7 separate regions of the Homo sapiens genome follow, and regions 1, 2, 3, 4, 6 and 7 are each linked to region 5. The links are contacts of gene promoters, found by promoter capture Hi-C in blood cells and fetal thymus (Javierre and others, 2016). All regions are on one chromosome and are shown on one strand. Each heading gives the region's core, a stretch centred on a gene start or on the middle of the fragment in contact. The rest is flanking DNA. Distances are from core to core; before and after follow the strand shown.

Evidence for each region. Contacts are between HindIII fragments. The CHiCAGO score rates a contact against its expected background, and 5 or more counts as called.
Region 1: a contact is called between a fragment that was not itself captured here and the fragment with the promoter of YIPF5 in region 5, in 1 of 17 cell types (neutrophils). The highest score is 6.5, in neutrophils.
Region 2: a fragment that was not itself captured here is called in contact with the fragment with the promoter of YIPF5 in region 5 in 1 of 17 cell types (total B cells); the score reaches 7.7 in total B cells.
Region 3: a fragment that was not itself captured here is called in contact with the fragment with the promoter of YIPF5 in region 5 in 1 of 17 cell types (total B cells); the score reaches 5.7 in total B cells.
Region 4: a fragment that was not itself captured here is called in contact with the fragment with the promoter of YIPF5 in region 5 in 1 of 17 cell types (naive B cells); the score reaches 6.3 in naive B cells.
Region 6: a fragment that was not itself captured here is called in contact with the fragment with the promoter of YIPF5 in region 5 in 1 of 17 cell types (total CD8 T cells); the score reaches 6.8 in total CD8 T cells.
Region 7: a contact is called between a fragment that was not itself captured here and the fragment with the promoter of YIPF5 in region 5, in 1 of 17 cell types (fetal thymus). The highest score is 9.5, in fetal thymus.

What each region holds. Positions count from the first base shown.
Region 1 is chr5:146,195,496-146,199,009 of GRCh38, forward strand. No RefSeq gene overlaps it. Among named protein-coding and RNA genes, the nearest start is that of RBM27, 6.4 kb to the right of the region's middle. The HindIII fragment of the contact is 3,677 bases long and covers 1-3,514 here.
Region 2 is chr5:146,451,833-146,455,099 of GRCh38, forward strand. TCERG1 (transcription elongation regulator 1) reads left to right here. Exons shown (of 23, transcript NM_001382548.1): 2 at 3,224-3,267. Among named protein-coding and RNA genes, the nearest start is that of TCERG1, 6.1 kb to the left of the region's middle. The HindIII fragment of the contact is 8,635 bases long and covers 1-3,267 here.
Region 3 is chr5:146,215,416-146,218,539 of GRCh38, forward strand. The region is part of intron 1 of RBM27-POU4F3 (RBM27-POU4F3 readthrough); the gene reads left to right. All of the region lies in intron 1 of RBM27 (RNA binding motif protein 27), which reads left to right. Among named protein-coding and RNA genes, the nearest start is that of RBM27-POU4F3, 13 kb to the left of the region's middle. The HindIII fragment of the contact is 4,825 bases long and covers 1-3,124 here.
Region 4 is chr5:146,490,059-146,493,578 of GRCh38, forward strand. It overlaps TCERG1 (transcription elongation regulator 1), which reads left to right. Exons shown (of 23, transcript NM_001382548.1): 16 at 2,862-2,980. Among named protein-coding and RNA genes, the nearest start is that of GPR151, 24 kb to the right of the region's middle. The HindIII fragment of the contact is 876 bases long and covers 1,826-2,701 here.
Region 5 is chr5:144,168,718-144,172,310 of GRCh38, forward strand. It overlaps YIPF5 (Yip1 domain family member 5), which reads right to left and starts at 1,942. Exons shown (of 6, transcript NM_030799.9): 1 at 1,818-1,942; 2 at 1,129-1,248. The coding sequence starts at 1,238. It overlaps KCTD16 (potassium channel tetramerization domain containing 16), which reads left to right and starts at 2,156. Exons shown (of 4, transcript NM_020768.4): 1 at 2,156-2,292. RefSeq lists an enhancer at 1,804-2,083. The HindIII fragment of the contact is 8,610 bases long and covers 1-3,593 here.
Region 6 is chr5:141,316,780-141,320,303 of GRCh38, forward strand. It overlaps TAF7 (TATA-box binding protein associated factor 7), which reads right to left. Exons shown (of 1, transcript NM_005642.3): 1 at 1,711-3,524. The coding sequence starts at 3,265. The coding sequence ends at 2,216. Among named protein-coding and RNA genes, the nearest start is that of TAF7, 2.2 kb to the right of the region's middle. The HindIII fragment of the contact is 1,932 bases long and covers 1,105-3,036 here.
Region 7 is chr5:141,969,903-141,973,256 of GRCh38, forward strand. RNF14 (ring finger protein 14) reads left to right here. Exons shown (of 9, transcript NM_004290.5): 2 at 802-975. Among named protein-coding and RNA genes, the nearest start is that of RNF14, 2.5 kb to the left of the region's middle. The HindIII fragment of the contact is 3,286 bases long and covers 23-3,308 here.

The DNA of each region.
Region 1 (3,514 bases), core at 488-2,987, 2.0 Mb after region 5:
TGGGCCTCTCCACAGGATTTCTTGAGAGTCTTGCAATATGGCGACTGTCTTTCCCAGAACAAGAGATCCAAGTCAGAAGTTACAATCCCTAATCCAGTGTGAGGAAAGTACAAGTGAATGTGAATAATAAGAGGCAAAAATAATTGTGTGCCATCTTGAGACTGGCTACCACAATGTCTAAAAGCCATTTTGTACTTCTCATGTTCAAAACTGAATTCTGGATCTACCAGCTGTTTTCTGAATCTGTTCATCCCTCATTTTTCCCAATTTCAAGCCAGTGCTCAGACCATACACTTTGGTGTCATTCTTGATTCCTCTTTGTCTTTCATATCCACAATCTATCAGCCAAACTTGTTGACTCCACTCTCAAAATATACCCAAAATCCAACTTCTCACTATAAGTCTAGTCCACACCATCATCATTGCTTGCTTGAATTAATGTTGTAGCCTCCTAACTAGTTTTCGTACCTCCTCTTTTGCCCCCTTCAGTCTGATACCCATAAAGGAGCCACAGTGATCCCATAAAAAAAAAAAACAGCGGATGAGATTATTTCATTACTCTATTTAAAACCTTCAGTATCTGGCCAGGCATGGTGGCTCACACCTGTAATCCCAGCACTTTGGGAGGCCGAGGCAGGCAGATCATGATGTCAGGAGTTTGAGACCAGCCTGGCCAACATGGTGAAACCCTGTCTCTACTAAAAATACAAAAATTAGCTGGGAATTGTGGTGGGCGCCTGTACTCCCAGCTACTTGGGAGGCTGAGGCAGGAGAATTGTTTGAACCCAGGAAGCGGAGGCTGCAGTGAGCCGAGATTGCGCCATTGCACTCCAGCCTGGGCGACAGCGTGAGACTATCTCAAAAAACAAAAAACAAAAAACAAAAAACAAAACCCTTCTTCTAATCTCAGAAGTAATTTTTTGTTGTTGTTGAGACAAGATCTTGCTCTATCACCCAGGCTAGGCATGGTGCAATCACAACTCACAGCAGCCTTGACTTCCCAGTCTGGAGTGATCCTTCTATTTCAGCCTCCTGAGTAGCTGGGACCACAGGCACGCACCACCATGCCTGGTTAGTTTTTTCATTTTTTGTAGAGATGGGGTCTTGCTATGTTGCCCAGGCTGGTCTCAAACTCCTGGACTCCAGTGATTCTTCTGCCTTGGCCTCCTAAAATACTGGGATTACAGATGTGAGCCGCCGCACCTGGCATAGAAGTAAAATCTAAAGTCCTTACCGTTACATGGTCCTTCATGATCTGGCATCTAACTACCTCTTTCACTCATGTACCATCAGTTTCTTCCTGGTTCATTCTGCTCCAGCCCCATTGCCTCCTTCCTTTCCTCAAATGTGCCAAGTCAGCTCCTGCCTCAGGGTCTTTGCACTTCCCTGGAAAGCCTCTATCCCAGATATCTACACGGCTAACACCCACACTACCTTCAAGCCACTGCTCAGTCTTTTTACCTTCCCCGTCACTCTCTATCTCCTCATTTTGCCTTATTTTCCTTTTTAGAATGTATCCCACCTGACATATTATATTGTTATTTGTCATTATTATCTTGCTACTGAAATAGATCTCCAACAGAATGCCTATTTTCTTCATTGCTGTATCCCCAGGGCCTATAATAGTGTTCTACTTATGATAGATTTCAATCAATATTGCTTGAAGGTAAGGAAGGCTGAATGCAGGAACTGAAAGAGGCTAATTCATGTAAAGTTGCATGGCAGAGTGCCTGGCACACATGAGTATGAGTTATTTTTATTTGATATGTCTAAATCACAAGGGGCTTATTTAATCCAAAGAAGAGTGGACGGTTTTAAACATCAGAGTGGACTCTTCTAACATCAGAAGGATAACCAGATGGAATGGGAGTCTTGTCAGTCCACTACTGCTGTTTTGTATTCCCTGCTCCCCCCTGCCCAAGAAAACCCAACAGTCACTGCTGACATGGAGCTTTCCACATTTCTCCTGGATGCTTATATAATCTGCAAGGACGTCAGATCTGGGTCCCCACACAGGTCCAGTGGGAACACATAAAGATCTTGGGGAATTGGGGCAAGGACTATTTCCAGTAACCACACACCTAAAGATGCCATTCTCAACCTTTTCTCCCTGGTGACACTGCTCTTAACATGTGAAGCAATATTTTTGTCTTTTTTAAGAGACGGGGTCTGGCTCTGTCACTCAGGCTGAAGTGCAGTGGCACGATGTCAGCTCACAGCATCCACTACCTCCCGCCTTAAGTGATGCTTTCACCTCAGCCTCCTGAGTAGCTGGGACTACAGGCATTCGCCACTACACCTGGAAAATTTTTAAATTTTTTGTAGAGACGGGGTCTCGCTATCTTGCCCAGGTTGGTCTTGAACTCCTAGGCTCAAGAGATCCTCTTGCCTTAGCCTCCCAAAGTGCTGGGATTACAGGCTTGAGCCACTGTAGTCGTGTGAAGCAACTTTGTATTTATTTATTTATTTGAGGCAGGTTCTTTCTCTGTCACCCAAGTGGCACAAACATGGCTCACTGCAGCCTTGACCTCCTGGGCTCAAGGAATTCTCCTGCCTCATTTTTTGTAGAGACAGGGTCTCACCATGTTGCCTAGGCTGGTCTTGAACTCCTGGGTGATGTTCCTACTCAGCCACCCAAATTGCTTGGATTATGGATGAGCCACCATGCTTGCCTTGAAGCAACATTCTTTTTTTATTTTTTTGCCCCGAAAGAGTCTTGCTCTGTTGTCCAGGCTGGAGTGCAGTGGTGTGATCTTGGCTCACTGCAACCTCTGCCTCCCAGGTTCAAGCAATTCTCCTGCTTCAGCCTCCCAGCTAGTGCCACCATGCCCGGCTAATTTTTGTATTTTTAGTAGAGACAGGGTTTCACCATGTTGGCCAGGCTGGTCTCAAACTCCTGATCTCATGTGATCTGCCTGCCTCAGCCTTGCAAAGTGCTGGGATTACAGACATGAGCCACCGTGCCCAGCCTTGAAGCAACTTTTTAAAAAATTGAGATACTTCTAGAGTCATATGCAGTTGTAAGATATAATGCAGAAAGAACCCTCACACACTCTTCCCAGTTTCCTCCAATGGCAGCATTTATTTTTTTGACACAAAGTCTTGCTTTGTTGCCCAGGCTGGTCTCAAACTTCTGGACTCAAGCAATCCTCCTACCTCAGCTTCCTGAGTAGCTGAGATCACAGGCACCTGCCATCACACCCAGTCAATGGTAACTTTTGGCAAAACTGTAGTATAATTTCAAGACCAGAATATTGACATCGATACATGTTTTGTGTTCATTTGTGTGTGTGTGTGTGTGTGTGTGTGTGTGTGTGTGTCTGCATATAGGCCTTTAGAAGACACACACACACAGTCTTCAAAAAGTTTATGGAAAATGTGTATTATGAAAAAACTATGCATGGATTTCAAATGTTTTTAACAAAATAAACTCATACGAACTTGTTACAACATTTCTAAACAGGATCTAGTTTGAGGCCCTAAGAGGGATAAGACATCAGTTTGAAAAGGGCCT
Region 2 (3,267 bases), core at 154-2,653, 2.3 Mb after region 5:
GCTGGAATGCGGTGGTGCAATATCGGCTCACTGCAACCTCTGCCTCCTGGGTTTGAGTGATTGTCATGCCTCAACCTCTCAAGTAGCTGGGGCTACAGGCATGCACCACCATGCTTGGCTGATTTTTGTATTTTTAATAGACTCAGGGTTTTGCTATGTTGGCCAGGCTGGTCTCGAACTCCTGGCTTCAAGTGATCTGCCCACCTCTGCCTCCCAAAGTGCTGAGATTACAGGCATGAGCCACTGCTCCTGGCCTAAATTGGTTCTTTATTAGGATTTTTTTGGTGTGTGTCAGAATTGAACGATGATGTGGTAAATTTAGAGAAAGTTCAAAGGGTAATCTATAAGCAGAGGGTTGAAAAATGTCAGAAAGTTGAAAGAGCCTGGTAACGAGAGACTATAAGAATGATTATTTTCAAATATATAAAGAATATAATTGTTAATTCCTCTCTTGAGGACAGAAATGTAGGTTTTTTATGTATAATGTAGATGTATAGTAGCTACTGGGAATACCATGATAGGTACTCAGTAAATGGGTGGAATTGTAAAAATAATTTTTTTAAGATCCTGCATACGCTACTTGTAAGGTAGTTTGGGTACTGTATCACCTAGGTATTCAGTGGTTCATGCAACAAATACTAATACTAATATTTATTGAGCCCTACTATGTACAGATCTATGTGCTAGGGATACAAGAGTGAACACAATTCCTACTCTGAAGGAGCATTTGCCTGTGTTTGAATCCTCTCTTTATTTTCTTTATTTATTTATTATTGAGACAGAGTTTTGCTCTATTGCCCAGGCTGGAGTGCAGTGGCACAATCTCGGCTCACTGCAACCTCCACTTCCCAGGCTCAAGCAATTCTTCTGCTTCCGCCTCCCAAGTAGCTGAGATTACAGGCGTGCACCACCATGCCCGGCTAATTTTTTTGTATTTTTAGTAGAGATGGGGTTTCACCATGTTGTCCAGGTTGATGTTGAACTCCTGACTTCAAATGATCTGCCTGCCTTGGCCACCAAAGTGCTGGGATTACAGGCGCGAGCCACCGTGGGCCACCTGAATCCTGGCTTTAGTACTGAACCAGTTGTGTGGCCTTGGACAAGTGACTTCTTTGCTTTAGTTCTTTATCTATAAACTGAGATTAATAGTATCCATCTCATTGGGTTGTTTTGATGATTAAAAGACTTAATTTTTGAAAAGAGCTTAGAGCAAGCACTGCCTGGCTCATAGTAAGCACTTTTAGGAGTTAATAATTCTCTTTACAAAAGCACTTGGGGGAAGAGATAGATAATACTATCTCATGTGATATTACTTATTTGCTTAAATGCTGTGGAGAAAATACATTAGGGTGTTGAGAGTGAGGGGTGGTGGGGCAGTGTGCCCTACAGGGAAAGGCTTTCCCTTTAGGTAGAGACTACTAATGATCTGCCAAGTGACCCCCCTGCCCCCTTTAAAAACTTTGGAAGTAATTTCAAATTTACAAAATGTCGCAAAAATAAAGCTAGGGTGTTATTCAATGTTAATATTTTACCTCTTCTGCTTTACTATTTGCGTGCACACGTGCATCCTCTTTGTTATTCTGAACTGTGAGGGTAAGGTATACCTATGGCTTTTTACCCTTCAATACTTCAGTATTTTCTAAGAATAGAGATATTATTTTACTTAACTACAGCCTAATTATCAACTTCATAAATTTGTAATGATATAATACTTTAATCTGTTGTGCATATTCCAGTGTTGTCAGTTGATCTGGCAATGCCCTGTATGGCATTTCCTCCTGTTAGTACAGAATCCAATCTAGAGTTAAAATTGTGTTGTTATTGGCCGAGCGTGGTGGCTCACGCATGTAATCCCAGTACTTTGGGAGGCTGAGGTGTGCAGATCGCCTGAGGTCAGGAGTTCAAGACCAGCCTTGCCAACATGGCAAAACCCTGTCTCTAAAAAAAAAAAAAAAAATTGTGTTGTTATGACTCTTTAACCTTTTTTAATCTGGAGCATTTCCACAACATTTCTTTGTCTTTTATGGATAACATTGACATATCTGAAGAATACACATCCCCCTTTTAATAGAACATTCCTTCCGGCCAGGCGCTGTGGCTCATGCCTATAATCCTAGCACTTTGGGAGGCCGAGGAGGGCAGATCATGCGGTCAGGAGATCAAGACCATTGCCAACATGGTGAAACCCCATCTCTACTCAAATACAAAAAAAAAAAAAAAAAAAAAAAATTAGCCGGGCATGGTGGCGCATGCCTGTAGTCCCAGCTACTTGGGAGAAGAATCGCCTGAACCCGGGAGGCGGAGGTTGCAGTGAGCCGAGATCATGCCACTGTACTCCAGCCTGGCAAGAGAGTGAGACTTGGTCTCAAAAAAAAAAAAGAAAAGAAAAGAAAGAACATTCCTTCCTTATTCTGAGTTTGTCTGATACTTTCCTCGTTGTTAGATTGAGGTTATACATTTTTGGTCGGAATAGGTGATGTCGTGTCTCTCTCAGTCACACATTATCTATCTGTCCTTCTTAGATGATAATTAGTTTTGATCACGGGGTCAAGGTATTGCCTAATTTCCTTATTACGTAGATTATGTAGAGTGTTTTTTTTTTCATCCTTTCTTGCAACTTTAAGCAGCATGTGGGTAAATACTTTAAGACCATCAGATAACCCTCTTGTCTAAATTTTTGCCTAGACTCGGCATCCATTGATCATTCATCCAAAACTAGATCATCCATTGATGTAAGTTTTTTTTTTTGTTTTTTTGGTTGTTTGTTTGTTTGTTTGTTTTTTGAGATGGAGCCTTGCTCTGTTGCCCAGGCAGGAGTGCAGTGGCTTGATCTTGGCTCATTGCAACCTCTGCCTTGCGGGTTCAAGTGATTCTCCTGCCTCAGCCTCCCCAATAGCAGGACTTACAGGCGTGCGCCTCCATACCTGGCTGATTTTTGTATTTTTAGTAGAGATGGGGTTTCACCATGTTGTCGAGGTTGGTCTCAAACTCCTGACCTCAGGTGATCCACCTGCCTTGACCTCCCAAAGTGCTGGGATTACAGATGTGAGCCACTGCACCCGGCCCATTGATGTAGTTTTTATCATGACGGTTGCAAAATGATGACTTTCCAACTCCACTTAGACTTAAGAACCTTTTAAATTTGATGGATGTAATTAGAGATCAGTAGCTACATTTTTGTAATTTTAAGAAAGAAAAATTTATTCCTTGCTTTCCCATGCAGGATGGCCCAACAGCAGGCCTTGAGGTTCCGAGGTCCGGCTCCCC
Region 3 (3,124 bases), core at 105-2,604, 2.0 Mb after region 5:
ATAGAAACTTTATTATCCATACCCAGCACTAAATCTATCAGATCATTAGACTCCTTGAAGGTTCCTATAACGTCAGAGAAAATAACATTGCCATTTTCTTCCATTCTTATTTATTTTTCTAAGTCCTTTTCTTCTGTGTTAGACTACCCTTATCCAAGAACTAAACTTTTTAAGTAAAGGTGGAAATGTAATTTTTTTCCCCTTCTCTCCTCCATATGAATGTAGACTAGAACTACACTGATAAAAATTTTCTCATTATTCTCAGGGGTGAAATTAAGTTGGCCTACACATCTGTTTTTTAAGGTGTTTATAGAATAGCCAGGGTAAGCATGGCATGTGTAATTTTTTTTTTTTTGAGACTGTCTCTCTCTGTCACCCAGGCTGGAGTGCAGTGGTGTGATCTTGGCTCACTGCAACCTCTGCCTCCCGGGTTCAAGTGATTCTCCTGCCTCAGTCTCCCAAGTAGCTGGGATTACAGGTGCACACCACCACGCCTGGCTAATTTTTGTATTTTTAGTAGAGACGGGATTTCACCATTTGGGTCAGGCTGGTCTTGAACTCCTGACCTCGTGATCCTCCTGCCTCGACCTCCCAAGTGCTGGGATTGCAGGCGTGAGCCACCGCGCCCAGCTGGCATGTGTAATTTTTATTTTATTTTATTGAGACAGTCTTGCTCTGTTGCCCATGCTGGAGTGCAGTGGCACAATCTCGGCTCACTGCAAACTCCACCTCTTGGGCTCATGTGATTCTCCCACCTCAGCCTCCTGGGTAGCTGGGACCACAGGTGCATGCCACCACACCTGGTTAATTTTTTGTAGAAGCAGGTTTTCACCATGGTCTAAAACTTCTGGACTCAAGCGATTCCCCACACTTTGGCCTCCCACAGGTGTGAGCCACCACACCCAACCATAATATTTTTTGAAGATAGAAAGGCTACATATTCACTATTTTGGTTTTTAATTTAAAATTTTATTAATAAAAATTGTATGTATTTAAGGTGTGATGTTTTGATATATATGCACATGCTGAAATGTGCATATATATCAAAAGCTAGTTAACATAATCATCTCATATAGCTGTCTTTTTTTGTGTGGTGAGAACACTTAAGATCTACTCTCTTAGCAAATTCAAGTTTACAATATATTTATCAATTTTAGAATTTAACAGTTGGCCTTACTAAGGTTATCTGTTCATAATTCTCCAAAATGTAACATTTTTTACTTAAGAAAAATCTTTACTTTCTTTTATTTTTTATTTTTTGAGACAGGGTCTCACTGTGTATCCCAGGCTGGAGGGTAGTGGTGTGGTCATGGCTCACTGCAGCCTTGACCTCCTAGGCTCAGGCAATGCTCCTGTCTCAGCTTCCTTAGTAGCTGGGAGTACAGGTGTGCGCCACCATGCCTGGCTAATTTTTATATTATTTGTAGAGACCGGATCTCGCTATATTGCCCAAGCTGCTCTTGAACTTCTAGGCTTAAGCAGCCAGCCTTGGCCTCCCAAAGTGTTGGGATTATAGGCATGAGCCACCAGGCCCAGCCTTGAGTGACTCTCTGTCTATTTATTTATTTGGAGATGGAGTCTCGCTCTGTTGCCCAGGCTGGAGTGCAGTGGTGCGATCTCAGCTCACTGCAACCTCTGCCTCCCGGGTTCAAGCGATTCTCCTGCCTCAGCCTCTGGAGTAGATGGGACTACAGGTGCCAGCCACCTTGCCTGGCTAATTTTTGTATTTTTAGTAGAGACGGGGTTTCGTCATGTTGTCCAGGCTGGTCTTGAACTCCTGACCTCAGGTGATCCCCCCGCCTTGGCCTCCCAAAGTGCTAGGATTACAGATGTGAGCCACCGTGCCCGGCCAGGTGAATGGATGTTTAAAGAACCAGCCTTTCCCATGACAGTGTTAATATTGACAACAAAAAAAGTTGTGTTACTGAATTACGAACTTTAAGCATAAAAACTAGAAGGAAGTAAAGGTACTGGTGCTTGGTTTTTATTTTGTTTACTAATCTCATAAAGTTATTGGAAATGTGATTGATACTCTTGAGCTGAAGCCTGTTTTTTTTTTTTTTTTTTTTTTTTTTTGGAGACAAGGTCTCACTCTGTTGCCTAGGCTGGACTGCAGTGGCATGATCATGGCTTGCTGCAACCTCCAACTCCTGGGCTCAAGGTGTCCTTTTGCCTCAGCCTCCCAAGTGAGCTGAAACCTTTTAACTTTCTGGCTGCTAGTGAAGGCCCAAGGATTATAGAACAAGATTAGTTAGATTTGAATAGTGTTTTATAGGTTATATAATCACTTTGCTTGCATAATGGTTTTACTTACTGTTATTCTGAATTTTTTGTTTGTTTGTTTGTTTGTTTTTTGTTTCTTTGAGACAGGGTCTCACTCTGTCACCCAGGCTGGAGTGCAGTGGTGTGATCGGCTGACTGCAATTTCTGCCTCCCAGCCTCAAGCATCCTCCCGCCTCAGCCTCCCGAGTAGCTGGGATTACAGACGTGCACCACCACACCTGGCTAATTTTTGTATTTTCTATAGCAACAGAGTTTTGCCATTTTGCCCAGGCTGGTCTTGAACTCCTGGGCTCAAATGATCCTCCTGCCTCAGCCTCTCAGGATGTTGGGATTACAGGCATGAGCCATTGCACCCAGCCTGAATGTTTTCATTTTACCTTCATAACCTGACTGTGAAGGATATGTGTTATTTATGTATTCATCAGGAAGCCTAGAATATTTTATATATGTGTGTGTATATATATATGTTTACAACAAGAAAACTAAAAGTTTCATGTGATGTACATAAAACCTCGAGTCTGACAGATTACTATACATCAGGAGTTGACAACCCAAGGATTATGAGCTGTCCTGGAATAGGAGATGATTTTGAGTATCAGTGTTGGATTACTTACTAGAAAAAATGAGAAGTAGATAAAGGTTATCTCTGCTGTCCTTTCACCACTTCTCTTTTCCTTTCTGTTTCTAACTCCTAGATCTTTTCTTTCTTTCTTACAGCTGCTAAAGCATTTGCCAATAATATTTAAATGCCATTCTTTTCATGTTCTTATTTTTTAAAAAGATCTTTAAGATACTCGCTGAGATTAGCAAAAGGGCTGATAGCCATTTTTAGATACTGGTG
Region 4 (3,520 bases), core at 1,014-3,513, 2.3 Mb after region 5:
TTTATAAGTAAGTATATACTGAGAAGGGAGTTGGAAACAACTTTCTCCCTCTCTTCAGCATGCAAATACTTTCAAAAGGTTTTCTGCAATGCTATACTTAGAGGAAATTGAAGATGACTTACATGTCTAGCAGGGGACTGGTCAGGTAATCACAGATATGGTAGTCCCTCCTTATCTGTGGAGGATATGTTCCAAGACACCCAGTGGATGAAGATTGGTAGACATATGTGGATTGACTTGGGAAGATGTCGAAGGTATTTTGGAACATTTTGTTGTACTTGTTATAAAGATGTTCATAGAGCTGTTCCCTACATAGTAAGTCTTTTCCTTTTTGTAGCTTCTTGAGAGAATGTGCAGGGAAAGTTTATTTGAGGCCTAACATACTTGGAAAAACCCTTATTGTACCCTTATTTGGAATTGTTTGGCTAGCTAAAGGCATTGCTCTGCTTCTAGTGTTCGTTGTTTTTGAAGCCATTCCTATTCCTTTATATGTGAATCTGTTTTTCTTTCTCTATAAGTATGTAGCTCTCTTAGTCCCTAGTATTCTGAAATGCCATAGTGGTATTTTTCCTAGAGGAAGGGTCTATTGTGCTCAGTACTTGGCTGACCTTTTCAGTGTGGAAACTCAGCTCTTTTAGTTACGGGAAATTCTCTTGTGTTACTTTAAAAAATTTGTTTCCAGTTTTCTCTGTTTTTTCATTCTGGGACAGAATTTGAATTTGCCTTCATGGATTGGTTCTTCAACTTTTTCTCTTTCCTGTTAATTACCTTTGTCTTTTTATTTAACTTTTTGGATAATTTCCTTGCCTTTATTAACCAACTATTTAGATTTTTAAAATTTATTGTGTCTTTTAATTCCTAAGAGTTCTTTTATGTTTTTTGAGGTTTTTCTTGCCTTATGGGTGCATTATCTTAGCTCTGTGAGGTTGTTTAGGAACATTTTTTTCTTTTATATTTTTATTTTTCTGTATAGTTTCTGATTCCACTAAGTTTGTTCTCTTTAGGGCTCTATTTTTCATGTTGGAGAGTTTCCTTAGATGTCTTGTAGACCCTGACTACTTAAGTGAAGCACTAAAATGCTGTTTGGGTACTCTTTTTTTTTTTTGCATGTAGAGATGGGATTTTGCCACGTTGCCCAGGCTGGTCTTGAACTCCTGAGCTCAAATGATCCTCCTGCCTTGCCCTCCCAGAGTGCTGGGATTACAGGTGTGAGCCACTGCCCGGCCTATTTGGGTATTCTTAGCATTTAGGTGGGCCCTCGTGCTTTGGGGCTGTACTGCAGAGTGGTGGTTCTCAACCACGAGTAGTTTTGCCCCCAGGAGACATTTTTGTCACCATTGAAGTGAGTGCTGCTGGGATCTAGTGGGTAGAGGCCAGGGATGCTGGTATACATCTTGCTCAAAACATCACTGTGCCAAGGTTGAGAAACATGCTGTAGGGTGAGTTAGGCTGGTTTGTTGAGAACCCCTGGAGCCAATGTTTTAGGCTGGTCAGATTCCCAATAAAGACTTCTAATCTGGCTGGAGGGCACAGATCTCTCTGCTTCGGATCTGAGAGAACTAACTGTGTCTTAGTATTTGGTATGTGTTTGGTTAATCTCCATGTTTTTAGTTTGGTTTGCCTTATTCCCAATTCAGATTCCCTTAGTTCAAAGACACTCTCTTTTACTTTCTAGAGCAGGCAGTCAGCAAATTTTTAAGAGTCAGATAATTTGTATTTTAGGCTTTGTGGGCCATATGGTCTCTATTGTAACTTTGCAACTGCTGTTTTAAGTGTCAAGTACCTGTAGACATACGTAAGGGTATAAGCATGGCTGTTCAGTTAAAGCTTTATTTATGGAAATACTGTCATTTGAATTTTATTTAGTTTTCATGTGTCATGAAACTTTGTTTTTCCCCTCAACCTTTAAAAAATGTAGAAACTATCCTTGAGCTGTATAAAAACAACCCGTAGGCCATAGTTTGCCAATTATTTGCTTTGGAATAGTCACTTGCCTTTTACATTCAGAAGTGGCAGTGCCCAGAAACATTAAGTTGGTGGGGGCATCTGGCAATTTAACAACTTATTAAATAGCTTTTCATCCTTAAAATACTACTTATTTTAGCTATGCCCCATCCTCACCTCCATAGGTATCTGATGCTGTCTATTCTTGAGTTGTTTGAGGAGATTCTGGTTTCAGAAAAAAAAACTTGAGTTGCCTCTTTGTTTTTCTTGACTGCTAGGTTATGTTGAGTGCTCTCATATCTGTCACATCCTTTTCCACTTGTCCCATCAGCTTTGCAAGTTGCTGGTTCTTTTTTTCTCAATCATTGTTGGGTTATGACTTAAAAAAGAAGTTCTTCTGTCATTTTGTAGGGTGTGAAGTAGGTGGTAAATAGATGATCAGTTCATTATCTTGACTGTATTATTAAGTGGGGGAAATATAGAATAGATGTAAAGCATGATTACATTTTAGTGAAAATACTTATGTCTTAAGAGAAGCACGGAAATAAAATATACTACAGATTCCATACCATTGATATTTCTTTCTAAAAGGGATTTGGGAAGACTGTGATTTCTCTTCCGCATTTCTAAATTTCTTGACATGTTTATAATAATCATGTATTTATAATCGGGAAAAAAATTAAAGAGGCTTTTTGCTGTTTTCTTTTGTTCTTGAAGCCTAAGTAGAGAGCTGTGTGCTTGTGTAATATCTCAGTGAAGCTTTAAAGTGAAACTTGGTATAGATTATCTGTGTATAATTATCTACAGTTAATATATTTTTCCTGGTATAGTTTGGACAAAGACATTGTCCAATAATTTGGTAGTTAAATTACCTATATGAAAGATTGACTTGTCAAATTTGTTGATTTTTATAATAGGTGTTTGATCAGTATGTAAAGACCAGGGCAGAGGAAGAACGCAGGGAAAAGAAAAATAAAATAATGCAAGCCAAGGAAGATTTCAAAAAAATGATGGAAGAAGCAAAATTTAATCCAAGGTATGTGGTTTGTTTCTCTTAAATATCAAAGTGTATTTATTTTCTCCTAAGATCAGTTTTTAAAAATTAAAAAAATAGATATTTTTTGACTATTTGGGCACTAAAAGCTCCTTATTTGATTATCGGTTTTTGCCAAAATTTCTAATCTTTATTTTTTACTATGTTTCCTTTAGAGGAATCCTAAGTGCTCTAAGAAGGGTACCTTTGATTTAAGTGCTTCCCTATGGGAATAAGTTCTTTAGAAACTAGTATATGATAGAAAATCTGTGCCTCATCTTTGTAAAGTTTTATACATAATGAGTTGCAGAGGAGGAACATTATTTTGATTAAATTGAAGTGGTGAAGGACCTTTTACCACTTCAATTTCAAAATTTTCTAAGTGTCTAGTTAATGGTCATGTCTGACATTTTGAATTGATTGGTAATATGTATTAAATACATGTAATGGGCTGAAGAAAATGAGACATTTTAAATTTATTTGCCTAGTTTTATAGTAATAACAGTTACTGGGTATTTTATGTGCTTATTTGCACTTTAAAAC
Region 5 (3,593 bases), core at 692-3,191:
CAGACTCAAAGAGACTATATGTTTTAGAAAGGATAGCCTAACCAAGACAGACACTATTACAGAGCCACAGTGAATTTGAATTTTGTTTTGTTTTTTAAATTCTTGGGCACTCTAATCCAAACACATTCCTGTATTGCATGTTTCTCACAAACTGACAGATACATAACCTTCCCCTGCCCTCATCGTGGAACAGTCTTTATGAGGTTTCAAATTCGGGATCCATGATGAACATCATTTAACACATGAATTGTCTGAAGTTATATATGCACATTTATTTGGGTGTTTGAGTGAATGCATGTATTTATGGGAAAGAGGCCCAGTTGTAATAGGATTCTCAAAGAGATCCAGAACCATCTAAAAAAGTTTAAGCAATCCTAGTATAGGAAGCTCCTTTATTTGACAGGAAGCTGATAAGATTATCTCTAGGGTCCTAAGAAACTAAGGAGATGATGTTTTAGGTGAGATTGCTAGAAAGCCTTCAGTTCATGTATTTTTGTCACAAACACCAGGTACTATAAAAAGATCATTTAAAAAAAAATGTTCAGAGGCTAACGGCTTTGAGTCAACCTCCTCAGTATGCAACTTATAACACGTGTGGCACTGACCATAAGGGTTTGAGAAGGAGGAGTAATAAAAATGATTATCAACTGCTGTATGAAAATCGCCTGATGATTCGTAATAAGGAGCTTACATCATTAAATAATGTCACTAAGCACTTTCAATTAGCACTGATAAAAGTCTCAGAGTTGGACTGATTTAACTACTAACAAAATACTTTAATTTTTCACTGGTCCTATGAACTAACAGCCTATCTCCTAGGTACCTGAAGCTCCCATCATCTTCTAAATACAGAAATACTGTTACTAGAAAACAGTTCTTCAAACAAGCTACTTTTCCATTCATGGTACACCTGAAGAGTTTGCAGAAGACACTCAACTCTTAAATAGAACAATACCTTCGAAGCCAAGCCAGTGTCACATATCTCTCTAGAGGAAGAAGATTATGCATGAAAGATCATACTCCTGATAAAGGACATGTTCACATATTGTTTTAGGCAGAACCAAATATTCTAAATATGTGTTTTCACTGCAATGTAGACTAAATTAATTGCCAAAGATGAAAAGTTACTTGCTATAGGGTCCTCCACTTCCTCCATAATCATAGGACTGCTGTGACTGATCATCGATGCTGTAACTTGTCTGGTAGAAATCCGTGTTTAAGTTTTCAAAGCCTGACATTGCAAATAATCTGTAATAAAAGAGAAATGGCAAATATTCCTTATGCCCAAGGTTCTACTGAATTCGTTCCTGGCAGTCTGCTTAAGCAAATAGAAACACAACAAATATTTTTTCAGTAATTCGGAGAGGGGATGGGGGCGGAAAGTACGCAGCATTTGAACGACGGTAGCGGAGAGAGAGTAAGAAAATGTATATTCTTTTAAGTTGCGGCCCAGTAAGACAACTCCACCTTAAAGAGCTGATATGCCTTCCATTAGGGGCGAGGTCGTGGGAGTTGTGGTTCCATAAGCGGTCTAAAATATCAATAACAACAAAGATGATTTTTCACCTTAGGACTGGGCTTTACAGCTGACAAGGCGACTGCTTCCTTGCAAAATAAGGCCTGCGGCCTGCCAGGAAAAAGTGCAGAATCTGGAAGGTCGCGCCTGAGGTGCAGGGGACCGCGTCAGGGCAAGGGCTTGAATGAGAGCGAGGGTCTGAGCGAAAGGACCAGGGCGCGGCGCCGAAAGACGGCAACAAGCCCATTTGCACGGGTGTGGAGAGAAGCTGAACACTGTGCCACGGGCCTGGGTCACTCACCAAACTCTGAGGCTGCGCTGGCGGCAAAGGCAGTAGCTTCACTAATCCCAAACAACCCCCAAACTCTGTTTCAGACCCTGAACCAGCCCCGTTGCTACGTGTCACAGGGCCAAAGAACGGCTTCCGGGGCACGCCCGCTCGCGCAGGCGTGTTAGCAGGTTGGGCACCGGTGGGCGGGAGGAGGAGACACGAGTATGGAGCTTGCGCAGTATCTACCCAACCTGCGGCTGGCCCGTGCCAAAGAGGAAAGTGCTTCCGGCAGCCTGGTTAGGGGTGGAACCAGGAAAGCGCAGGCGTAGCAATTGCTGCTTACTCGTAGGTAGGAGGAGGAGTTTCTCAGACCTAGGTGATGGAGGAAGACTGGGAGGCGCTAAAATGAGACAGACGGAGTCCCCTCTCCTGTCCACAAACTACAATGCCTACAATGCCTCGGTGTCAGCATTTACTGTGATTCAAGCACTGTGCTAAAGTGTTTGTATGTATTATTTAATCTTTACAACCTAATGAGATGGTTACCCTATTTCCCTTTTGTAAGTGAAGCTATTAAGTATTCATTCATTCTGTGCTAGCTGCTGGGGATACTGTGGTAAATATAAGCTAGGTGACATCTACCCACCTGGAGTTGGTGGTGGAGAGGGGTAATCGAACACATACAAATGCATGTGAAATTGCTACTAATATTCTTTAGTGTTCCATAATTCTTTGAAAGAGTAACATTCATCTGGGAAGAAGAGTCTGTAAAGCCACTATAAGAGGGTTATCAAAGGGTGAGTGGGAGTTAGAGAAGACCAGAAAAGAGAAGAAAGGGCAACGGGAAAGGAGGATAAGGGAAAATAGCCTGAATATTTTAGGCAAAGAGAACAATGTGTGCAAGATCTGGGAAGCATGGTCTGAGGAAAGATGAAAATCGAGCTCTGAACTTCAGCATTATTAACATTTTGAGTCAGGATGTTTCTTTATTGGGGGCTGCCCTGTGCATGATGCTTAGCAGTAGCATCCCTAATCTCTAGCCATTAGATGCCAGTACTCCCCCCAACCAACCACCACCACCATCACCACCAAGTTGTGACAGCTAAAAATCTCTCCAGACATTGCCAAATCCAAATGTCCTTGGGGGCGGTGGGGGCAACATTAGCTGAATTTGTCAACCACTCTTCTAAGTGGAACCTGAGTGACTGGAACAGCAAGTGAGGGGAGCCACATAGGAGTTGAGGCTGGAATAACAGGAAGGGGCCAGGAAATATCCTGTGGGATTTGTGTGTTGGTTCTAAAAGAAGTGAAGATTGTGAACTGATGAGTGATGTTTAAATTGTTTTCTTTTGAAAATGATTGCTTTGGCTCCTGTGTTAAATCACTTTCCCAAGATGGTGGAATCCCGAATATTGTGACTCGAAATAAGATGCTATTAACTAATGAGCAGAACTTTCTTCAGGGTTTATAGCAATAAAATTTATCATGAGCCACTGCATTATATTCTGGGATCAAAATCCTGAGGCCCTCACAAAAGAAGCCAGACCATTGTTGGGGACTAGTTTCCAAAGGAACAATAAAATTTCACTTAAAACTTTTCTCTCAACACCCCCCACCCCAATAAAACAAACAGAAAACGCACTCCCCTCCAAACAAAAATAGCAACAACAAAAGGATGTAAGACCCAACCAAAAAACCTAGGATTGTACTCTAGAGACCAACAGGCAGCTGCCCTTTGAGGTTTTTACCCATTAGCGAATTTATTTGTTTTATTTTTGTGGATACATCATAGTTGTACATATTTAT
Region 6 (3,524 bases), core at 821-3,320, 2.9 Mb before region 5:
TAAGCTTACATATTCTGTGCTAAAATCCTAGTCACGGCCAGGCACGGTGGCCCACGCCTGTAATCCCAGCACTTTGGGAGGCCGAGGCGGGTGGATCACAAGGTCAAGAGATCAAGACCATCCTGGCCAACATGGTGAAACCCCGTCTCTACTAAAATTACAAAAATTAGCTGGGCTTGGTGGCACATGCCTGTAGTCCCAGCTACTCCAGAGGCTGAGGCAGGAGAATCGCTTGAACCCAGGAGGCAGAGGTTGCAATGAGCCAAGATAACGCCACTGCACTCCAGCCTGGCAACACAGCAAGACTCCATCTAAAAAAAAAAAAAAAACTTACTCATAAAAACGTTTCACTTAAAAAGATAAATTAGCCTTCTGAAGTCTGCAAATGTCAGCATATTTAATTATAGACCTGAGGACTAGGTAACTTTTTTTTTTTTTTTAACATTTCAATACTGTTTCTTGTCAGATAGAAGTAAAATGGACTTTAGGCCGGGTGTGGTAGCTCAGGCCTGTAATCCCACCACTTTGGGAGTCCAGGGTGGGCAGATCACCTGAGGTCATGAGTTCAAGACCAGCCTGACCAACATGGTGAAACCCTGTCTCTACTAAAACTACAAAATTAGCCAGGTGTGGTGGCACATGCCTGTAATCCCGGCTACTCGGGAGGCTGAGGCAGGAAAATCGCTTGAACCCAGGAGGCAGAGGCTGCAGTGAGCCGAGATCACACCACTGCACTCCAGCCTGGGCAACAATAGCAAAACTTTGTCTTAAAAAAAAAAAAAAAGAGGCCGGGCGCGCTGGCTCATGCCTGTAATCCCAACACTCTGGGAGGCCAAGGCGGGCAGATCATGAGGTCAGGAGATCAAGATCATCCTGGCTAACACAGTGAAACCCCGTCTCTACTAAAAATACACAAAAAAATTAGCTGGGCATGGTGGCGGGCACCTGAGTAGTCCCAGCTACTCAGGAGGCTGAGGCAGGAGAATGGTGTGAACCCAGGAGGCGGGGCTTGCAGTGAGCCGAGATGGTGCCACTGCACTCCAGCCTGGGTGACACAGCGAGACTCCGTCTCAAAAAAAAAAACTTTAAATATTTTCAAACCCAAGCTTCTCATAAACCAACCTGTCAAACAAATTGCATACAACTCTGCCTCTTTTATCAGTAACTGATTTTTCAAAAATAGCTTATGTTGTGAGGCATTAGATTATCTTTAGAGCATGAGAAATTTGGTACCAACTTCCTTTATGAGCAATTTTGATGAAATGACATTGATAAATGACCTCAGTTCTCAGAATATTAATTATAGGAACTCAACTGAAGAAAATTAGAAATATTAATCCAAACCAATGGAATGGTTCATTGGACTGCACTTGATAACCACTGCTTTGTTTCCAACATTTTATGCAGGTAGATTTAGCGCTTTTTAAAAAAGGCACAAAGGCCTTCATCTACAAAAATTAGGGTACTTTAAGAAAGCTCTGTATCTAATGTTTCCCAGCTTTCAAGTAGATCAAATAGAATTGGAATCTTAATATGATGCAAACATGACCATTCCCAATTTCTTTACCCCTGCTGTGTTCCTTTTTTTCATAAACCCTACTGCCTCTACCTGCAGAACGGGATCAAATTGCTTAGTCACTAAACTCCACCATAAAACCACCTCACAAGAGGACCTGACTCCCACCAACCATGAAAGAACAAGATACACTATAAAGTGAAAAACAGATGCTTTTATTTATTGTATTGGAAACAACTTAATAATTTGCATCTCTACATATAGAAAGCTGCTTTGAATAACTGGGAAAACAATTATTGCATAGGAAAACATATGCAAACTAGCATCATTGTCTCTAGACTAGGTTCTTCTTATTGATCTCACGTCATCACAAAGCAGCAACAGCAGCTTCTAGAAAATGGAGAAACAGTAAAGTCCTGCAATGAAGCTATAATTAAGGTTGAACCATACATTCCGCTAATCCTGCAACTTTCCTACAATCATTTTTCTGCCTATACAATCCTGCTTCTTATAGGATGAACACCTAGCAAAACAATATAAATTTGCTGAAAAACAAAATTACAAACAAATGAAAGAACTTAACAGAACACACAGCATTAAAAGGACTAGGAAGAGCAAGGTCTTAATACCCAGTACAATAAAGCCAAGAATTTTCTAATGCTGACCAGTCTGAAGACTGAAATTAAATATCAGTTCTTTTTACTTCTCTAGGAGTGATTCTAGCTCCTCTTGCAAAGAGCTGAGTTGCTCCTTTTCTCGGTCTTCCTTTTGTTTGAGCTCATCCAGTACAGCCTGAAATCTGTTCTTGAGAGCCAGATTTTCCACTTTCATGATGAGATCCTCTTGTCGTTTTGCCCTGTCCTGGGTCTCTTGGAGCTTGCCTTTCATGTTGTCAATCTGCTTCTGAATTCCCATAACCAGCTGATTGGTTCCTTCATTTTCCTGGTGCTGTTCATCTGATTCATTTAGCTTGTCCTGTAGCTGTCTCTCCAGATCTTCCTCCGTGTCAATGATGTTTATATCTTCTTCATCTTGATGCTGGGTCTCATCTTCATCCTCACTGCTGCTGCTGAGGTCATTGAATATCTCCCGAAGCTCATCATGTTCTAATGAGTCATGGCCCTGCCTGTGACCAGACATTCCTGGAGAAGAGATATCCAGGCCTTGATTTTCTGCCTCCTTTGTTTCATCTTCGGCAATTATTTCCCACCGAGTACTAACAGCTTCAGCATCTGTACTCAGCAATCGTTTCACTTCTTTTTCAACATCTGGAGATTCAATATATTTCTTCTTTGCTGTCTTCCGGAACCTTCTCTTCCTGACATTCTTTAGAGGCAGAGTAATTCCGTGGTTCCAGATAAACTTTTTCTCTTTGTCCTTATCCTTTTTCTTGCTTGCTTTAGGATCAGTGCTAGCAACTGGCTCCTCCACAGGAGGATAGAGATCACCATCAACTGTGGATACAAGCATCTGACAGATATCAGCTGTCTTGTAAAAAGTTTTTTTATCAATGGTTTTCAAGCTTTCCATAACACAGGGCAGGTCTACTAATTTTGAGGCCAATGGAACACGGTCCACTCTGACGATTCCATGACGCCCATCAGGATGTAACTCAATTGTCAGTCTGTCCTTGAGGTTGACATGACCAGACTGTACTGCCCTTCTCACAGTAGAGGCATATTCTGGAGGCAGACGTAAGATAAACTGGCTCTCCAGTTCGTGAGGAGCATCATCTTTGCTTTTACTCATCTTTATTTCCTTGTGATTCACTTCTCCAATAAATGCTGGTTACACTAAAAAGTTCCAGCTACTGCAATAGTTTAAAACACCAGTTTGCTATGAATTGAAATCTTTTAATTACAAGAAGTTCTCTGTAGATCAGCAGCTAAGCGTCTATTTTGCCTTAGTTTTTATTTAAGCTCCAAGTCTTTTCTCTAAATATGCTGTGACCGAATACCAGTCGTTAACACAAAGGCTTATTCACAGACTTAAGTTCATTAAATCAGAT
Region 7 (3,354 bases), core at 416-2,915, 2.2 Mb before region 5:
GTTTTAACAGGAAGAAACAAAAAGCTTAATTCAATTAGCACCATATACTCCCACCTAGTAAAATAAGACAATGTGAAAGGACCTAATACAGTACATAGTAGGTGCTCAATTAATGTAAATTGATTCTGAATCTCATTCTTATCTCATTTGGGAGTTACACATCCGAGAATCTGGTTTTTAATTATGGTTTTGTATATAGTATTTTTGCATATAATTTTAGGGTGTTGATAGGATTCTCCGTAGCCCATCTATAGACCACACTCCCTTTTCCCCTCACCCCAGTGAAGAAGCCTAGCTCTAAAGCATTTAGAATAAAACTTAAAAGTTTGTGTTTGTGTACTCTTGTTTTGTTTAAGTATTTTTCTGTTACCAAAATTAACCTTGAGTGCCACTGGCAGGCTTAATTCATGAACAAGAGAGGAAAAACTGGAGGGGAGTGGCAAATGAAGGAATACAAGAAGCAGAAGAGGAAAGGAGAAAAAAACAAAACAAAAAACAAACTGAAGAGATTGTTTGTTATGGGGCATGGTGTCCTGTACTTTCATATGACCTTGGTGTTCCTCCTTAGCTCCTCCCATAGCTGAGGGCAGACAGATAAAAAGTCCTCAGTCATTGCTGGGGACATGCAAATACTCCTTTAACCACATGGCTCAGTTAGCCTGCCCTAGGAGAGTAACATGCACTTGTAGATTAGGATTGGCTATATGTTAGGATATGTTTGACTTAAGCAGTGATCATGGAAATTCAGAATTTTAATTTGGAGAGGGTCCTAACACCATCTTTTGTATTTCTTTTCTGCAGATGGCAGGATTTTCATAATATATGTAGTATGAGTTCCACATCTTGGCCTCTTACCCAGCTTCAGCAGTCTCAGCTCCACCAGTTAGAGAATAAATGGGATTTGCATGAACTCCACTCTGAGCTGAAATACAGACTGCGGTGTTAATATCCTTTTCTTCTGATTGTTATTAACAGGTACTAACTGACCTCAAGTAGAACATGTAATTGTGTCTTAGATAGGGATGCAGCTTAAGCAGAGCCATGAACTAACATCTCCTAGAAAAAAAGTGTTTTTTGAAAATGAAATCATTTTTAATTTCATAGTATGACCTTTTAAAATGTAAAAAATCCTAACTTTTTACTTATGTACATTTTAATTAAAAATATTTTAGTTGTGAGGGAGGATATTTGCAAATGCAATTGTAGTTCAATATTTTAATTGACTGGTAGTTTTGTTTTATTAAAATGATTTTTGTAAATTCTCATTGCATATTTTTTTCACATTTAAATTATCTGAAATTGCTGTATCTTTCAGTTGATGCTATTTTAAAAAACATTGATTCATACTTTATTTTTTGAGACAAGGTCTTGCTCTGTCCCCCAGGCTGGAGTGCAGTGGTGCAAACACGGCTCACTGCAGCCTCAGCATCCAAGGCTCAAGCGATCCTCCTGCCACAGTCTCCTGAGTAGCTGGGACTACAGGCACACACCACCACACCTGGCTAATTTTTTATAGAGACAGGATCTTGCTATGTTGCCAAGGCTGATCTCAAACTGCTGGCCTCAAGTGATCCTCCTGCCTTGGCCTCCCAAAGTGCTGGGATTACGGGCATGAGCCACCATATCCAGCCAGTTCATACTTTAATTGTAGCTAATTTCTTTTTCTTTCTTTCTTTCTTTCTTTCTTTCTTTCTTTCTTTCTTTCTTTCCTTTCTTTCTTCTTTCTTTCTTTCCTTTTTTTTTTTTTTTTTTTTTTGGAGACAGAGTCTGTCTCTGTCACCCAGGCTGGAATGCAGTGGTGCAATCTCAGCTCACTGCAACCTCTGCCTCCTGGATTCTAGTGATTCTCTAGTCTCGTGCCTCAGCCACCGAGTAGCTGGGATTACATGCGTGTACCACAATGCCCGGCTAATTTTTTTATTTTTAGTAGAGATGGGGTTTTGCTGTGTTGGCCAGGCTAGTCTTGAACTCTTGGCCTCAAGTGATCTGCCTGCCTTGGTCTCCCAAAGTGCTGGGATTAAAGACTTGAGCCACTGTGCCTGGGCCTTGTAGCTAAATTCTTAGTATTACCTAAAATAATGGTAAATCTTTCTTAAAATTATTATCTTTTAAATATTCTTGAGTCATAATGGTGAATCTTTAAATTGGTGACTGCTTGGATTTGACAAAATCTATTATTTCAAAAATTTAATATTATTTTGCTGCTTGCTCAGTTATCTAATTTTCTTCCATAATATCTATGCCTGTAACATTCTCAAGCACTGTTTTCTCACCTGGGAGCAATTTTGCCTCCAACCCCCATCCTGCCCCAGGACCTGGCGCTATTTGGAGATATTTTTTTTTTTGAGACAGGGTCCCACTTTGTCACTCAGGCTGGAGTGCAGTGGTGCTATCATGGCTCACTGCAGCCTCGACCTCCCAGGCTCAAGTGATCCTCCCATGTCAGCTCCCCAAGTAGCTGGGACCACAGGCAAGCACCACCACACCTGGCTAGATATTTTCAGTTGTCACAGCTCTTGTGGGTGGAAGCGGGCCACTATTGGGTATCTAGTGGGTAAAAGCCAGGGGATGCTGTTAAGATTCTATAATGCACAACACAGCTCTCCAACAACAATTATTTACTTCAAAATGTCAATAGAGCTGAAGCTAAGAAAACTTGCCCTAAAGATTCCTGTGGATTTAAAAAATTTACTTTTTTGTTTTTTTGAGACAGAGTCTGACTCTGTCGCCCAGGCTGGAGTGCAATGGTGCAATCTCAGCTCACTGCAACCTCTGCCTCCCACGTTCAAGCAGTTCTCCTGCCTCAACCTCCCGAGTAGCTGGGATTACAGGGGTGAGCCACCACACCCAGCTAATTTTTGTATTTTTAGTAGAGATGGGGTTTCACCACGTTGGCCAGGCTGGTCTCGAACTCCTGACTGCAGGTGATTTGCCCGCCTCGGCCTACCAAAGTGTTGGGATTACAGGCACGAGCCACCGCGCCTGGCAAATTAACTTAAGAAAGGAGTGTAATATACTTTGACCACTTTTGCGAACCAGGCACATTGCTAGGTTCAGTGGACAAGTCAAAGTAAATTTGTGATTTGTCCTTTTCAAAGAAAATTTTCAAATTGTGCTTTTTTTCCTCTAATTCAGTCATAAAATATCTAACTGATAAGATCAGGAATTAGAAGTACCACAACCATCCCTTTTGAAAAAGACTGTTAATATTGCAAAACTAATGGAATGCCAGATATGGCTGTCATTTTTGGTTTAGGAGAAAAGTGATAATATCGATTAATTCTTTGCAGTTGTTTTTTGTGCCATTAAGCTTTTTCCACCTCTGTGCATTTTCTTTTCTTTTTTTTTTTTTTG